Regions from separate parts of the Homo sapiens genome. Here region 1 is linked to region 2. The links are contacts of gene promoters, found by promoter capture Hi-C in human tissues and cell types (Jung and others, 2019). All regions are on one chromosome and are shown on one strand. Each heading gives the region's core, a stretch centred on a gene start or on the middle of the fragment in contact. The rest is flanking DNA. Distances are from core to core; before and after follow the strand shown.

The links. Contacts are between HindIII fragments. The study calls those that stand out against the background at their distance.
Region 1: a fragment that was not itself captured here is called in contact with the fragment with the promoter of RNF139 in region 2 in 1 of the 25 tissues and cell types used here (mesenchymal stem cells).

The regions. Positions count from the first base shown.
Region 1 is chr8:124,265,162-124,268,109 of GRCh38, reverse strand. No RefSeq gene overlaps it. Among named protein-coding and RNA genes, the nearest start is that of FER1L6-AS2, 95 kb to the right of the region's middle. The HindIII fragment of the contact is 3,784 bases long and covers 1-2,948 here.
Region 2 is chr8:124,473,340-124,476,507 of GRCh38, reverse strand. RNF139 (ring finger protein 139) reads right to left here and starts at 1,628. Exons shown (of 2, transcript NM_007218.4): 1 at 1,218-1,628. The coding sequence starts at 1,398. It overlaps RNF139-DT (RNF139 divergent transcript), which reads left to right and starts at 1,945. Exons shown (of 2, transcript NR_108047.1): 1 at 1,945-2,423. RefSeq lists enhancers at 629-1,172, 1,173-1,718, 1,681-2,010, 1,719-2,263, 2,351-2,540 and a silencer at 1,351-1,660. The HindIII fragment of the contact is 10,823 bases long and covers 1-3,168 here.

The sequences.
Region 1 (2,948 bases), core at 428-2,927, 210 kb after region 2:
CCTAGGATGTCTGGGATACCCCCAAGCACTTCTGAGGAGGGGCCATTGCTGACCTGGGTTGTTAAGTAAGCTTGGGGAGCTGGGATCACATGTGTCTTCCTTCGGGTCCAGCTCTAGTACATTGTCCCTGGAAAGCCACTTTCCAAACAGTGGGAAAAGTATTACTCTAATTACAAGAGCCCTTTGAAAGCCCCTCAAGAAGTTGTCAAAAAGCCCCGAATGGTTTTTGTTTGTTTGTTTGTTTGTTTGTTTTTTGAGATGGAGTTTCGCTTCATCCCCCAGGCTGGAGTGCAGTGGTGCGATCTTGGCTCACTGCAACCTCTGCCTCCCGGGTTCAAGTGATTCTCCTGCCTTGGCCTCCTGAGTTGCTGGAGTTACAAGGCGTATGCCACCACATCAGGCTAATTTTTATATTTTTAGTAGAGACGGGGTTTCACCACATTGGCCAGGCTGGTCTTGAACTCCTGGCCTCAGGTGATCCACCTGCCTTGGCCTCCCAAAGTGCTGGGATTACAGGTGTGAGCCACTGCGCCCGGCCTGCGAATGGTTTCTTAAAGTAAACAAAATTAGAAAAAGGAAAATGAAGGTGGCCCTGTACCAGAGAAGAAAAATATAATTCACAAGAACAACAAACATAGGGAACGGAGAACAAAGCTGATTTTTATTTTTGTTGTTCTGTTTTACTAAATGATTCTTCTGTGTCAGTGCTGTGCTATAAATATAGGCTAATTTCCATTTCCTCCTGCAAGCATTGGACAGATTTTACCCTCGTCTTGTCATGAGTCAGAAAGGAAGGATATTTACTATGTACTGACTGTGTGAAATAGTCAGCTGGGGTGTTGGAGTCACCTGACTAGGTCTTCCTCCCAGAATCCAGCGTCATTTCCACTTTCCTCTCACCCATTGGCTGAACTGAATTAGAAGGCAGAGGAACATGGGTGATGCAGAGCTCAGAGGCCAGCCTCCTTGGGCATAGAGGAGGTGGAGAGGGTGCAGAGGGAATCTGGAGGCTGGGTCTGCAGGGGCAGATGGAGGCTGTCTACCACAGCCCCCATGCTGAGAGCTGGGAGGGGCACGATGATCAGGGCCATCCGACAAGATGCTTAACCTGGCTTTGTACTTGGCTCATTGCTCCTGCAGATGAAGACTGGGGCTCCTCAGCAAGCCTGGGTCCTACCATAGAATGTCCCCGGGATCTTTCCAAAGCTGAAAAGTTAACCGCCGGGAGAAGGCATCTGATAGAGTGGGTCTCTTGCCTCCTAGTGGACTGACTAGGAGCCAGGAGATGTGGGATCCAGTGCAGATTCTTCCATGTGGAGTGTGTGACTGTGGGGGCAGGCCCCCTTTCTGGGCCTGATTCCTCTTTTGTGAATTTGTAGATTTAACCTAATCCAGAGGCCTCAGCCCTCCTTGTGTGTCTGAATCCCCCAGGAAACTTTAAAAACTATCAGCCTGCCCAAGCCTCACCTCCAGAGCTGCCATTTCTCTTGGCCGAGAGAGCCTGGGCACTGGTATTTTTATAAACACACCCAGGCGCGTCTCATATTGGGCTGGGATAGTGAATCTGGACTAGACCACCACATCAGTTCTGGAATTCCACTTCCAGGGGTTAAGTTCTCCTCTTTTTTCTTCCTTTCTTTCCTTTTTTTTTTTTTTTTTGAGACAAGATCTCGCTTTCTCACCCAGGCTGGAGTGCAATGGTATGATCATGGCTCACTGCAGCCTTGACCTCCCAGGCTCATGTGATGGTCCTCCCACCTCAGCCTCCCAAGTAGCTGGGACTACAGGCATGTGCCACAATGCCTGGTTAATTTTTTGTAGAGACAGATTCTCGCCATGTAGCCCAGGCTGGTCTCAAGCTTCTGGACTCAACTGATCCGCCCACCTTGGCCTCCCAAAGTTCTGGGATTACAGGTGTGAGCCACTATGACCAGCCCAGCTCTTTACTTCTCCATGGCAATAGCACAGAAGGAAATAAGCACTCTATTGAGGCTCAGCTGGCACATTTGTGATAATCATTTAGTCCTCACAACAGTTTCTAGGTTGTCATAGTTATTACACCCATTTTTATAGTTGAAGTAATTGAAGTCAGAAAGTTTTGCCATATTTTCATCAATATTTACTGAGCTCTACAGCATGTCAGTTACTATTGTAGGTGCTGGGGATACACGATGAACAAAACAGACCAACTCCCTGCTCTCCAGGAGCCCACGTCCTAGCCTGGAGATGGATAATTAGTGACAGTAGGTCCCTGGTTTTCCTGGGATTATTAACACCTGTTAACCATTCTTAGCATGACCCTTCATTCCCAAAATGTCCTAATTTGGGCAATAAATTATATTTTTATTCCATAAATAATAAAAATGTGAACATGGCTGGGTACAGTGGCATGTGCCTGTAGTCCCAGCTACTCAGGAAGCTGAGGTGAGAGGAGAGGTTGGAGGAATGAGTTCTGGAGTCAGGGCTGTAGTGAGCTGTGATCATGCCTGTGAATAGCCACTGCACTCCAGCCTGGGCAACATGGTGAGACCCCATCTCCAAAAAAACAAAACAAAAAACAGCAAAAAAATGAACATCATAGATGGTGATAAAGACATCGAATAAAATGACCACAACATTGTCTTCTCTAAAAAATTCTATGACTTATATATTTCTTAAAGTCTTTAACATCAAGACACTGTGGCTGACTCAGTTGGGAGAGTGGCTGCTGGGATTGGGTGATCGCAGAACGCCTCCCTGAGGAGGTGGCATATGAATTGAGGTGTGAATGGTAAGGAGTTGCTGGCCATGCAGAAACCCGGGAGTGATGTTTAGGTGATGGGAGCAGCAACTGCAAAGGCCCTGAGGTAGGAACAACCTTGTTTGTTGTGTCTGAGAGATTAGAAGTAGTCACTGTGGCCAATACCCAGTAAGTGCCTGGAAGGTGGAAGGAGATGAGGTCCAAGAAG
Region 2 (3,168 bases), core at 379-2,878:
AGGGAGGAAAGTAAACCATATTTAATGTCAAAAGATTTTTAAGCTCAGGCTCTGGCAACCACTTAGCGGCAGCCTACCAAGAGCAAAACACTTAACCTCTATGACCCTGTTTCCTGGTTTGTAAAATGACAATACCACCACCCACCTCTGGGGGATGTTTGAAGGTTAGGTTAGATAATACCTACCAGTGAAAATGCTTTGCAAAAGGAAAATACCAGATAAATGTAAAATATGGCTATTTATTGCTAAGAACAAAATTCGGCCTTTATTGCCACTCCTCTTTTGAAGGAATAAAGCAACAGATGGCTTGTAATTCAGAAAGGCTTGGTAAAGACCTCACCATCAGTCTGCCCTCAGCAACACTTCAAAAGCACTAGCCTACTTAAGACCGATCACCAGAATTACCTCATCAACAAAATTTGCCAAGTTACAATTACTTAAAAAATTATTTTACGCATAAATGCATCTCCCTCTGATGATGTAAGTGAAGATGGAAAGGAAGAAATGAAATATAAGATACTTTTAACACTCCATCCATACGAAACAAAGACAATGATTTTCAGAAGTCTCTTTGGCAAATGTCTCATCACTTTTTACAGTCACTTTCAATACCTTCTCGTTTATTCATGGAAAATTTTAGGACTCGATTTAAGCATCGCCGCTTTCATGAGAATTTTTGGTAATGGTTTCAAGGTCTGACATTCAAAACCCTGTCTCCTTCGCTTGGATGTCATTTACTGCAGACACTTCACGATCCTGTGGACCCTCGGGTGCAGCAGAAGTGACAACATACAAGTACTCGGCATTTGGTAATAAAGGGAAACTGAGGCCCACGCCTTGGCAGAAGTCCAAGGTCACACACGACGAGACTGGGATAGCAGAGTTGTTTTTCGAAGGCTGTCGCATAGGACGCGGTAAGCCAGTACTCATTTCCCAAGGCAAACGGGCAAAGAGCTGCATGCTCACACATCCTTACTTTCTCCCCACCTCACTCAGGTACAACACTGAATCCTCGCTAGGGGGACTGCTCCGCTGTCAACTCAGACAAGTATCATCTCCTTCCCCCTCCCAACCCGTAAAGACGACCCTTTGAGGGATGAAACTGTAGTTCCCAAAGACACATACTCGACCCATGGCCTCTGCGCGCCTGCCCGCTCCCCGGGGAACGTCTCGGCCCGCATAGCCGTCCCGGGACGTACGGTACCCTGTTCCCTTACCAAAGAGCCGGAGGAAGATCTGGAGCACGATGCAGAACCGGCTTTGGCTGGAATCCGGGTAGGAGTTGAAGATGGCGTCGATGATGTAAAGGCAGGGCACCCGGAGCGCCACTTCGAGCGCCGCCCAGACCTGCTGATGGGCCATCCGCACCTGCTGCTGCGGGGGCCCCACGGCCGCCATGAGCCGCTGCCACACCAGGGCTCGGTGGGCCGGGCAGGGCCGCGCGGGGCAGGGCCCGGGGCCGCGGCCGGGGGCGGGGGCTAAGGCGGGCAACTCCGCCCCTGCCCTCCTTCCTCTCCTGTCTCTCTCACGGCCAGCCCCGCCGCCCGCTCGCGTCCCTCGAGGTGGAGCAGGCGGCGGAGGCAGCGATGGCCGAGAGGGCGGCGGCGGCGGCTCCCCAGGAGGTCTCTGGGTTTCGGTGTTTCCGGCTGGCTAAGGTCTGACTCCTCCTCCCTCCACTGCCTCCCCCGCCCGCGGAGCCACCATCTTGACCTCGCCCGCTGGCCTCTGCCGTTGCTGCTGTGGCTAGGCCCGGAGGCTGCGCCGTCAGTCAAGCGAACCGCAGAGTCCGCGCCCACTGCCTGCGTCATAATCCAGCGTCATAATCCAGCGCTAGAGACGCTCCCCATGTCGTCATCACCCATGGTTGCCATGGTTTCCGCCCACCTCCTCAGCTTACTCTAGCTTCGTGCCACCCCGTGGCGCATGCGCTTTTCGGTAGCCGCGCTTTCCGGCGTTGGAGTTGCAGCTTCACCCTCGCAGATTCGGCTTAGCGAGCGAGTCGGTGCTTCCGCGGATCAAAATTATTAGCCGTTTTATTAGAGCCCATTAAACGTTGCATAAACATGGTTCAGAGCTGCCTGGGAGAAGAAAAGCCAAAGGATGCCACCCTCTCGATTTATCCCACCCTCGGGAGTCTGAAAGCCGACGCCAGGAGAAATCCCGCGAAGGCCGCCCGGGATCCTGGTAGAGGCGACGCTGTGTGCGTTTATGGAGCGCTTGCGGTGCGTGGCACTAGGCTGGGTGTGGTGGGTGCTGCCGAAAAAAGGGTTCCTCCCATCCATTTGCACGTCACCCTTCCCACCTCCTGCCCAGATGGACAGAAGTGAGGACATTCATCGGCCGCATTTTACTAATGGCAAGGAGATAGCGACTGAAGGGCAAGAACCTAGGGTTTCCTGTCTTTGATATTTCTCATCTTTGAGGTAAGTACACCTGGACAGTCCCTTCCTTCCTCCTCAGGGCTCATGCTTTCTTGCCTATCCGTGTAATTAATATGATCTGGCTATCTTTGTCTTTGTTCCGAAACTTCAGCTGCAAATGAAAGTGTAAGTTAGGTCTGAGTCTGCACTATAGACCTAGCTATCCTAGGTTAAAGGGGATAAAATAGGAATCAAGAAGCCTGGCCCGCTTGGGCTCCCAGCTCAAGTGCATTCTGCAATCCAGTTTATATTAGGCCTCCATGTGGGTGGCTATCCTTTATCAAGATCCCCCCCAGGGGGAGGAGGATTATTAGTCACATTATCAAACTCCCCTCCAACCCCTTTCTCTGCTTAGAGGTATGTGTAATGTGTAGTAGAAAGACCGAATCCCCACCCAAAAGTCCTTACTGCTACTCATGTTTTTAACCTTCTGTTCTTTACCCTACTCCCTAATAATGACCGCCATCATTTATCTACTGCTTAATGGATACTAGGCACTGTGCTAAGGGTTTTATGTTTTACTTCAATCTTTTCATCGGCTTTATTTTGATAGTTTGTTTTATAGAGGAGGAAACAGACTTAGGTAAGTTACAAGATGACAAGGTTACTACCTTGTTCAGTTAGTAGTCAGCAGCTAGTATATCCAAAGATAGTACGAGTCAGAACTAGGATTATAAACTCAGGGCTACCTGAAACTCACAACTTCAGGCATCTTTGATTTCTTCTTTTCACCCACAGCCAATTCTTC